Regions from separate parts of the Homo sapiens genome. Here region 1 is linked to region 2. Evidence: promoter capture Hi-C in 16 types of primary human blood cells and fetal thymus (Javierre and others, 2016). All regions are on one chromosome and are shown on one strand. The core of a region is centred on a gene start or on the middle of the fragment in contact, and the rest is flanking DNA. Distances in the headings are between cores, read along the strand shown.

Region 1 (5,173 bases), core at 654-3,153, 2.2 Mb before region 2:
GAGGTCAGGAGTTCGAAACCAGCCTGGCCAACATGGTGAAGCCCAGTCTCTACTAAAACTACAAAAATTAGCTGGGCATGGGGGTGTCCGCCTGTAATCCCAGCTATTCAGGAGGCTGAGGCAAAAAAAGAAAAGAAAACATGTGTCCCACAGCCAAGACTAGGTCTTGTCTGGGGTCACAGTAACTTCCTATTGAATGGAAGAAAATAAAGCAGGGTGTTATAACCGGACTGAGCATCAGGAGACCTGGCTTCCTGACCTTGAGCAAGTTCTTTCTCTCTCTGAGCTCAGTTTCCCCATTTGGAAAAGTCATCCAATTGGACTCCATGATCTCTGCAGGCCCTTCCTTCATACACCTGTCATCTAATACTTCATGAAACATTTGCTGAAATGTCCTCATTTCTGAGAAAAAAAACCCACCTGGGTTTTTCTCATTCTTGTGTTGACGGAGTTATAGTTCTCATCAGCTTCCTCCTTCTGGGGCTCTATGGCTGTGGGAAGACACAGGGGTATTGGGGGTACTTGTCTCCATAGGATTTTTAGGGAAATATAATTTATCATAAAATGACTAAGGCTGAGCCTCTAAGAGGAGAAAGTAAGTTTATTTTTCTTTGCATTACATCACTGAGTTCCCATAGGTATGCAGAGGCCACCTAACAAAACTCCATCTCCCTGCCCAAAGAATGCCCAGTGGGCAGCGATAACTGTGTAAGTAAATGGTTTCATTGTAAATAAAAGAACCTGAGAGGCGGACTTGTGCTGTGGAGAGTACAATGGCCTGGAGGCCAGGAGACAGATGCTAGACCCAGGCCTGCTGTGTGACCTGGATATATCACTGGCTTCTCTGGGCCACACACTCCCCAGATATACCAACAACAGGGCAGGATCAGAGGGAAGGATCTGTCTGAGGTCCCAGGAGCTCACCCTTCAGCTGCAGGCGGATCTCCCTCCCCAGCTGTTTGATCTCATCGCGCAGGTTCTGCAGCTCCTGCTTCATGCCTGAATAAGAGAAGGCCAAGACTCCCAAACAGCAGCCCCCACCTCAACAAACCACTCTGGCCACCACCTGCGTGGAACTACAACCCCCACAATCCCTGGGGCGGAGCATGCGCCCTGCAGCCGGGGTTTCACTCACTCTCCTCGGGAAGGGGCGTGGCCAGGATGGTGACCTGCTGTTTCTCCAACTCCTGGACTTTATTCCCCAGTTTGACAATAGTCTGCCGAATTGTCCGGACCTGGGGAGGGTGACCGAGAGGGCTGAAAGAGATATGGGGTACTCCAGACCACGCTACTCCTCGGGTCCTCCTACACCCTCGCGAATCCAGGCGGAGACCCCAGCCCCTTACCTTGTGGAAGAACTCCTCGTCCGGGCTCCCCAGCCGTGCCGTGCCCGGGTGCACCACCAGCGCGACCCGCTCCTTGTCCTCTTCGTCCGAGCTGTCATCCCCCTGCCAGGCCCGGAGTCATTGGCACCACCGTTTCGCTGCGGCTCTTACCCCGCAGGACCCACAGGCTTCCGGGACTTTCCTTCCTGGCCATCAGCCACCCCTCCCTATCCCGAAGACCAGAAGTCCTGCGTTCCAGTTCGTCCGCCCGTCCCCATCCCCGCTGCCCTGGCGTCTCACCTGTCTCAGCTCGTGGGTCCTGTCCCGCATGGCGGCCTGAGCTCTCCCTCCCCGGCGCCAGAGCCGGGAGGCCCTCAAATTTGGAATTCCCGTACCCCGCTCACACTCTGACACTCCCCTCCCTCCCCCTGCGGACCCCAACACCCCCACGAGCCGCCAGAGGCTCCGTCCCTTGCACCGCCCACAGTCAATGGGAAGGCGCCGACCCCGGGGACCCCCCAAGGTTCCACAGGTTGGAATTCCCTTTTCTTCCCCGCTCCAGCTCCCGCAGCCTCAGCCCCGCCCCTCCGTGATAAATTCGGGGCATGCGCACATGGTCGCGTCTCTTCCTTGCCCGAGGCTGGGAAGGTGGAGTCGGAAGTTGTTGCGCCCCGAGCGGAAGCGGAGATGCCTGGACGCGAGAACTTGCTACCGTCACCGGAACCGTTGCATCTTCCAACGGAAATCTGGTTGCCAAAAGGGGTAGGAATACGTCATTTGTACGTAATCCGAGACACCCGCATCTCACATCACCCCATGGTGCCCCCACCGCGTCACGTGACCAGCCCGGTCCCAAACTCGTGGACCGCAGAATGTGACCCTGTGACTGTCACGTGTCCCGGCTCTGTCACCGCCGTCTCTGGGACGCCGTTCTCATCACGACGTCCCCGGCACCCCAACGACCGAGCGACGCCCACACGGCCCCCGCGAGGTGGGGAGGGGCGCGCCGACCACCCCCAGAGGCCTTTCGAGGCAGTGGGTGGTAGGACCCTTGCTGACCTCGCCTTTATTGCTTTCGGGTCCAGGGCGTGGGCGGACTGACGACTTAGCATTTGGGGCTGTCAGCATCATGGGACCTTGAAAATCGGGAAATAATAGGATCCGAGTCGTCAGCGTCAGAAAATTGCAGGGTTGTGTGGGCAGGGAATCTGGGGGTGGGAAGTGACCTCAGCCAAGGCAGAAATCTCTTCTTCCGCATCCTTCTGGCGCAGCCTCTGACAGGTGGGCGGCCAGCCGGCGCCCTCCTTGAACACTGCAGCCCGGCTGCACTCACCACCTTGTGAGCCGTCAGACCATGTCAGGGCAGCTCAGGCTAAGAAAAGTGTTTGTATTGATCACGCTGCCTCCCTGCCACTCACACCCCCCAGCCCCTGCCTTGCATCTGAGGCCAGGTAATGACTTTGTTCTTAACTGAATCTGGGGAGTTCCTAGCCCAGTACCAAGAACATTACGGGCCCTCTATAAATACTTGTGGACAGAATTTCAGGCTTTCATGTATCTGAGGATAAAGCCCCTGGTTCCTTGGTCTTCTTTAGGCTTCAGGCTTTCTGACTGTGACACTTCTCTAATCCTGGCTATCTAGATATTCACTCATTTTTTATTTTTAAAAATTTTTACGAGATGCGGTCTCACTATGTTGTCCAAGCTGGTCTCTAACTCCTGGGCTTAAGCAATCCTTCTGCCTCAGCTTCCCAAAGTGCTGGGATTACAGGCATGCACCACCATGCACAGCAACATTCAGTCATTTAATGGATATTTTTTGGGCACATAGTATGGGCCAAACACTGTTCTAGGGCTGGAGATACATCAAGGACTAATAGACAAAAATTCCTGCACTCGTGGAACTTATATTCTCTAGAAGGAGTCCCCAAGGTCACTCAGCAAGTCTCAGCATAGCCGGGAATGAATAACAGGTCTCCTGGACCCCAGGGCTCTGTCCAGGAAGCTTCTGTGAAGGTACAAGCAAGGAAAGGAATGGACCCTTTCTGCTATGCCCTGGTCAGGAAACCTAGATTCCTGGGACTGAGTTGCTATGGACTTCTGGAAATCGCTTCCTGTCTCTAAGTGTGGATCTCCCTCTGCACAGTGGGTAACTGTAGGGGGATGGGGAGATCATCTTTATGGGTATCGGCTGCTCTAAACTTCAGTGATGATGAGGTTGGAAACTGTCAAGTGCTGTGTGATTCTATGTGAGGAGTTTTGGCTCTTCTCCTCTTCCTGTTAAAACCCAGCTCAGGCAGGGTGTGGTGGCTCATGCCTGTAATCCCAGCACTTTGGGAGGCTGAGGCAGGCAGATCACCTGAGGCCAGGAGTTGGAGACCAGCCTGGCCAACATGGCGAAACCCTGTCTCTACAAACATACAAAAATTAGCCAGGCATGATGGCAGGTGCCTGTAATCCCAGCTACTTGGGAGGCTGAGACAGGAGGATTGCTTGAACATGGGAGGTGGAGGTTACAGTGAGCTGAGATCACGCCATTGCACTCCAGCCTAGGTGACAGAGTAAGACTCTGTCTCAAAAACAAAACAAAACAAAAAAAAAAAACCCAGCTAGTAGGAGAGTGGTGCCCTGATGAACCCACAGAGGGAATGCAGGGTTTTTCCGGAGGCCAAGCCCTGCCCAGTGGTGTCCCCTGGAGATGATAAGGAAAGATTCTCTGCTCCTGGGTCTTTCATGTCAGCCTCTGCCTCTTCAGTCACTGCTGCTTGCCTCCTGCATCTTTTGTCCCCTGCCACCCGACCCCCTTCCCCCTCCTACTCTGTGTCTCTGAGTGGCACACGGTGGAAGGGCTCTTGGACCCCTGACTCATAGTCCTGCATGGGATCTTAAATAATGCATTACTTCTCTCTGGGACTCAATTTCCCCATTTGGCGGCTTGGTCCTATAATTTCTGCCTTGCCTAAGGTAGGACTTGAACACTATCAAGTGAGGTTAGGAAGGATGTGGAAGGGGCTGGAAAACTGTTGAGGGTACCCTCCCCTCTGGGCTTTTTTTTTTTTTTTTTTTTCTTCTCTTTGAGGTCAGGTCTGGTTCTGTCATCCAGGCTGGAGTGCAGTGGTGTGCTCTCAGGTTCAGTCAATCCTCCTGCCTCAGCCTCCCAAGTAGCTGGTACTAAGGCACGCACCACCATGCCTGGCTAATTTTTGTATATTTTTTGGTAGAGACTGGGTTTCGCCATGTTGCCCAGGCTGTTCTCAAACCCCTGGGCTCAAGTGATCCACCCACCTTGGCCTCCCAAAGTGCTGGGATTACAGGTGTGAGCCACTGTGCCCAGCCTCTCTGAGCTTTTAATACTGTGGGTTCCAGCGTCTTCTGGGCCCCCTGGTCCCATCTTCCTCTTTGTTTCTCAGCGTCTTGATGGCATGCCATCTTGGTCCACTAAACTTCTCAGGATTATAATATTATTTCACTTGTGGTCTCTGGGTGAGATCGCAGGGCTTTGGAATGGTGACTTAAGGTCACAGGAAGCTGGACTCCAAGCCTTGTGGTGGAATATGGAGAGGAAAGAGGCCATTTAGAGAGATTGGCGCTGGGGGTGGAGCTCTCCAGAGCTGAGCCCTTTGTTCCTCTCAGGCCCTCTGAGCAGCCTTGACGGGGATATTAACTATATTAGGCTAGGTGCAGTGGCTCATGCCTGTGATCCCAGCACTTTAGGAGGCCAAGGGTGTATCACTTGAAGCCAGGAGTTCGAGAGCAGCCTGGGCAACATAGCGTCTGTCTCTACAAAAAAAATCTTAATTACCCAGGTGTGCTGGCGCTCTCCTGTAGTCCCAGCTACTCAGGAGGCT
Region 2 (5,607 bases), core at 1,443-3,942:
ACCAACTTACCACAACAGCTGTAAGGAAATGCAGCATTCTGGAATTGTTGTAGACGCCTTCAAACACCTGTCAGTTAACATAAGAGGGAGAATTAAAGGAGTAATCAGTCAACACCTCATTTTCTTTTCTAAATGCCCGCCGCACTCTACTCATTCTGCCTTGTGTGTGCCGGGCCCACAGCCCTCCTGAGTACATTAGACTCTATCTAGACCTAATGTGCCCTATATTCCCACATTATGCATCTTTTAGGTCTATGTATCTTAAACAGGGTGGGAGAAGACACTCACAGGTGACTGTGGGGGTCCCTTTCCTGTGCTCTGTCCCCTATAAAAGAAAACAAGAAATTACTTAAGTCTGTTCAAGCCCTCTTAGACCACTATGAAATTAATGTTAAATCCTAGAAGTATATACCACCTGATGATGCTGATTTAGACTACAAAATTGTTAATCAGTAAGATTTTTCTATTTTTTTTGAGACAGGGTCTCCCTCTGTTGCCCAGGCTGGGGTGCAGTGGCGTGATCTCAGTTCACTGTAGCCTCAACCTCCAAGGCTCAAGTGATCTTCCTGCCTCAGCCTCCCGAGTGGCTGAGACTATAGGTACGAACCACCACTCCTGGCTTTTTTTTTTTTTAATTTTTAGTAGAGATGGGATTTCCCATCTGTGTTGCCCAGGCTGGTATCGATCTCCTTGGGCTCAAGGGATCCTCCCACCTTTGCCTCCTAAAGTGCTGGCATTACAGGCGTGAGCCACTGCGCCCGGCCAATAAATAAGATTTTCAAACTGTCACCTTGTAGAGGAAGAAAAAAATAGACATTAATAAGCCAGCAAACACATTTCCTCCAAATGCCAGCAAAAAGATCTCAATCAACAATGGTTGTCAATTGCTCTAAGAACCAACGAGAAAGGGGCTAGGGCTGCAGGCTACCAACAGATCAATGCTACAGTATTAACCAAAAAGCCACGCCAGCTGTGAGGGCAAAAGCTCCAGGAGTGCAGCTTTGGAACTACCTAGCTCAGGTACATTACCTCCCAAACAGAAAAGACAATCATTTTCAGCAGCCTGACGCCTCAAAACTGTGGGAGGAGGGGTATCCCCTCCACACCCCATCCCCTCGACCTCATGACTCATTCAGCCCGTTACCCACTCTGCGGGGATCACCAATCGCCAGGTAACCCTGCTCGTCGCTGGCTGATGTAACCGGCGGTTGAGGGCGAAGAGGGGGCCGCTGGCGGGGCTGGGGGACAGCGCAGCCGCAAAAGCCATCCACCGGGAGGCCTCGCCCGGTCTGCGCCTGCGCACTAAAACCCACGGGACTTTCCGAACCCCCACCTCCAGCGATCAGAGCCCACTGCGCCTGCGTGTGCTGCCACTCTTAATTCCATTAACACACACACACTCGCACAGGAAAAACTGAGCAGGGCCTCCACTACTCATGCACTGCCACCAGACGAGCCCCTCCACGAACTAGTCCCTGCCCTAGGTGTTCCCGGGGCGCGCGAATGCCCGGGTCATGAGACCGAGCATCCACGCGCACGTACGGGAAGGGGGCGCGCGCGCCAGAGGCTCCCGGCCCGCAGTCCTCCCAGTCATCCCTCCTTCCGTCCCCCCGCCCACCTCGCTCCCCTCCTACTGGCCAGACCGGGAAGGGGGAGGCAGCAACCCGCTCCCAAGTCCCTCCCTCCCCATTGGCCAAACTGTGGGCCGCGCGCCCCCCTCCATTGGCTACGGCCGGGGACCCCTTCCCGCAGCAGACTCCCCATTGGCTGAAGCCGGGGACCGCGAGACCCTTCGTGGTAATGGAACCGGGGACCCCGATCAGCTCCTTGCCCCCCCCCAACTCCCCGTTCCGACGGCGCCGGCGGGATGCGCCCCGCCTCCCCTGAAGGCCGGGGCTGCGAGCCCTGACTAGGCCCCGAGAGCCGAGCGCGGCCCCTCAGTGCTCCGGTGGCCGCCCGGGGACCCTTTCCGTCCGACCTGTTCGGACCTGAGGGGGCCCTCCCCCAGCTTCACGGGGACTCCCCACCCAGCCGGTGCCCCTGACGGTGCCGGGTCGGGGTCCGCCCCACCGGAACCGAGCCACAGCCTCTGGGTGGCCGCGGCTCCCTCGCCCGGAGCCCACCCTTCTCACCTGGCGCTGCCGATGGCGGCTGCCCCCGGCCTCTCCTGGTGTTGCTGCGGCGGCGGCGGCTGCGGCGCCAAGATGCCTTCGGCTCCCCGGCGGAGCCCGCTCCCGGCAGCGGCCACAGGCCCCAGGCAGGGGGAGGCGGCCGCTGGAGGCCCGGGAGGAGCCGCAGAGGTGGCCAGCGGCCCCGGGAGGCCGCCGTTGGGAGGGCTGGTGCCCCCGGGGGGCCGACGGGCCACGGCCTGTTGCGTGGGGGGCGGCTGCTGGGGCTGGGAGGGCTGTTGTAGCGGCTGAGGCTTCAACATGATGGCAGCGTCCGGAAGGGGAATTAGAGAGAAGGGAGGGAGAGAGGGGGCCGGGGCTGGGGCCCCGCTGGAGAGCGCGGGAAGCGAGGGGGATCGGGCAGCCGGGGCCCGCCGTGGGCGGGCGGGGGGAGCCCCGCGGTGTCGGGGGTGGAGAGAGAAGACCGCGGCGCGAGGAAGCGCCGCGAGGCGGAAGGGGAGGGGGTCTCGCGGCTGGAGGAAAGCGAGAGGGCGCGAGCCGGGCTGGCGCGCGTGCGCGTCGCCGGGGAGCGGAGAGGGAGGAGCGCGCGGGTGGGAGCTCCCGGGGGGGGGGGGGGGGGGGGGGGGCCAGGAGCGAGCAGTGGCGCGAGGTGCCGCGCACACCGGCGCGGTTAGCTCCCGGCGGGAAAGTGGGAGAGAATCAAGTCGGTGAACCTCGCACCCCTAGCCCTGGGAGTGGGTAAGGAGCGGCGCGGGCGCTCACGCGCGCCAAGGATTTAGGGTCTTAAGGTCTCAAACCGCCTTAGAAGCCGGCGGCCGCTGTCGCTTCACAATGAGCGTGTGAGGCGCAGGGGGAGGAGCCGAAGGCGCCAGAGGAAGGGCCGGCCTCTCCGCCCACGCCGTCGCTGCGTCGCGATGCCTCCGCGGGAGTGTGAGGCGGCACGTCGTGCGTGAGGCTCTTCCGCCACTTGGCGGCCCGTGGGCAGAGCCTTAAGTGCCAAGAAAGTCTCCGGGACTGGACCACCCGAGCCACTGCGCTTTTAGGCAGGTGGTAGGTTTCGCAAGGAGCTACCCTCCACCTTGTTTGCTTTAAGTAAAAGACTGATGAGCATTAGTGATTCGTTTGAGCGTGTTGATCTTTGCAGATAAATTTACGCCTCGTCCTAAATTATTTCAGATTTTTGTGATTTTGACCTAAATTGTTCCTCCATGCCCGAGAATGAATCTTTAAACTGTAATAACAAAGACTGAAGGCCAAAGTTCCGAGTTCAAAATCCTCCACCCGACCCTGCAATGAAGGCAGCTTCATTCATTCAAAATGAGTTGGGCATTGGAGTATTCAGTTAGTTGTTTTGGACACAAGGATAATTAAACTGCTTCCTGCTCTGGAGGAGTTCATGCTAGTGGTGAATTCAGAGAATTTGACGAGATCTAGTAGGTGAAGCACAGAGGACTACAAGAGCAAATGGGAGTGACACCTAATCTTAATCCAGTTTTGGGAGACCCAGATAAGGGACAGGAGGGCCGGGCGCAGTGGCTCATACCTGTAATCCTAACATTTTGGGAGTCCGAGGCAGAAGGATCGTTTAAGGCCAGGAGTTTGAGACCAGCCTAGGCAACAAAGTGAGACTTTGTCTCTACAAAAAAAAAAAAATTTAAATTATAAAAAAAAACTGATAAGAGGGCAGGGGGAGATGGGTTTCTAGGCAGGGAAATAGGATATGACAAACTAAGAAAAACTCAGCTTGTCCTAAGCATAAAATTAAAGGGGGGAAGAGGTAGCTAATCTGGGATCAGGTTTTAAAGGCTCCCAAGTCTTGTAAGAGACACGGACATTATCCTCAAAGCAGTGGGGAGCTTATTTAAGAAAGTGAAAAGAGGCTGGGCATGGTCTGTAATCCCAGTACTTTGGGAGGTTTGAGGTCAGGAGTTTGAGATCAGCCTGGCCAACATGGTGAAACCCTGTCTCTACTAAAAATGCAAAAATTAGCTAGGCGTGGTGGTGCATGCCTGTAATCCCAGCTACTCAGGAGGCTGAGGCAGGAGAATCACTTGAACCAAGGAGGCGGAGGTTGCCGTGAGCCCAGATCGCACCACTGCACTCCAGCCTGGGTGACAGAGCAAGACTCCTTCCCCCCAAAACAAACAAAAAAACAAGTGAAAAGAGGTCAGATTTGCATTTTTAAAGGTTTACTCTTTGCAACGTGGAGAATGGAGTGGAGCTGTTAAGTCCATGTGGTCTTAATCCCAGCGAAACTCTCAATGTCTCAATCTCTTCGCTCTAAATGTTAGCATTGGAACTCTTCCCAGCCCCTGCACCAAACACATGCACACCTAGCTACAACACTGCCTTACTTTTTGGGTAATAGTCCTTCGCCCTGCCTCGCTCCTGCCTTCAGATGTGCTAGTTTCCCCTCCTGTGTGCTCGCCGAGCAATTTATCCCACTGTATTCTAACAGCTCCTTTAATTCTGTCTTCCTGCTAATGTCAGCTCCCTAAGGGTTAGGATCTTGACTTATTTCTTGCTCTGCAGTACTCTAGCACACTGCAGGCACTCAATGAAATATCTGTAAGGTGAGTGGATCCAAATGATGTTTTTTTGTTTGTTTTTGAGATGGAGTTTTGTTCTTATTGCCCAGGCTGGAGTGCAATGGCGCGATCTCGGCTCACCACAACCTCCGCCTCCCGGGTTCAAGCGTTTCTCCTGCCTCAGCCTCTTGAGTACCTGGGATTACAGTCATGCACCACCACACCCGGCTAATTTTGTATTTTTAGTGGAGACGGGGTTTCTCCATGTTGGTCAGGCTGATCTTGAACTCCCGACCTCAGGTGATCCACCCGCCTCGACCTCCGAAAGTGCTGGGATTACAGGCATGAGCCACCACGCCCAGCCCAAATGGTGTTTTAAAGGTCATCATGTCTCCTGGGTTCCCTAACAAACACAGTCCAGCTTTTTCCTGGCATTACCTGGACCACCTGATGCCATGCCACCTCTCTACCCTCATTGACAGATTGTGAGCACTGAGCACTCTAACCCCCTTCCATCTACCCCATCCTGCTCCACACTCAAATTCTGAGTTTTAGCCCCATGAAACTTCTTTCTCCATAGCTTGCCTTGCCCTTGCTAGTGGCAGCTAATTTGCATGGGGTCTACAGCAACCTCAATTCTTGCCTCCTCAGAAGAAAGAATTCCACCAAGGGGCATAAGGCAGAGGGAGAGACAGAGGCAAGTTTTAGAGCAGGAGTGAACGTTTATTAAAAAGTTTTAGAGCAGGAATGAAAGGAAGTAAAGTACACTTGGAAGAGGGCCAGGCGTGAATGACTTGACAGATTCAAGTCCCTGGTTTGACCTTTGACTTGGGGTTTCATATGCTGGCATGCTTCCAGGGATTTACGGTTTGCATCTCTTCTCCCCTGATTCCTACCTTGGCATGGGCTGTCCACATGCACGGTGGCCTGCCAGCACTTGGAGGGGCCAC

Evidence for each region. The method cuts DNA at HindIII sites, captures the fragments that hold promoters and counts their contacts. A CHiCAGO score of 5 or more calls a contact.
Region 1: the fragment with the promoter of STX4 here is called in contact with the fragment with the promoter of ATXN2L in region 2 in 1 of 17 cell types (monocytes); the score reaches 5.2 in monocytes.

Annotation. Positions count from the first base shown.
Region 1 is chr16:31,030,288-31,035,460 of GRCh38, reverse strand. STX4 (syntaxin 4) reads right to left here and starts at 1,903. Exons shown (of 11, transcript NM_004604.5): 1 at 1,626-1,903; 2 at 1,347-1,448; 3 at 1,136-1,235; 4 at 925-999; 5 at 421-491. The coding sequence starts at 1,655. RefSeq lists enhancers at 1,045-1,555, 2,068-2,579. The HindIII fragment of the contact is 4,602 bases long and covers 1-3,332 here.
Region 2 is chr16:28,820,084-28,825,690 of GRCh38, reverse strand. ATXN2L (ataxin 2 like) reads right to left here and starts at 2,692. Exons shown (of 22, transcript NM_007245.4): 1 at 2,133-2,692; 2 at 289-325; 3 at 11-67. The coding sequence starts at 2,431. It overlaps LOC124903672 (a long non-coding RNA gene), which reads left to right and starts at 1,649. Exons shown (of 2, transcript XR_007065042.1): 1 at 1,649-1,797. RefSeq lists a silencer at 1,486-2,635 and enhancers at 2,956-3,165, 2,677-3,413. The HindIII fragment of the contact is 7,883 bases long and covers 1-5,607 here.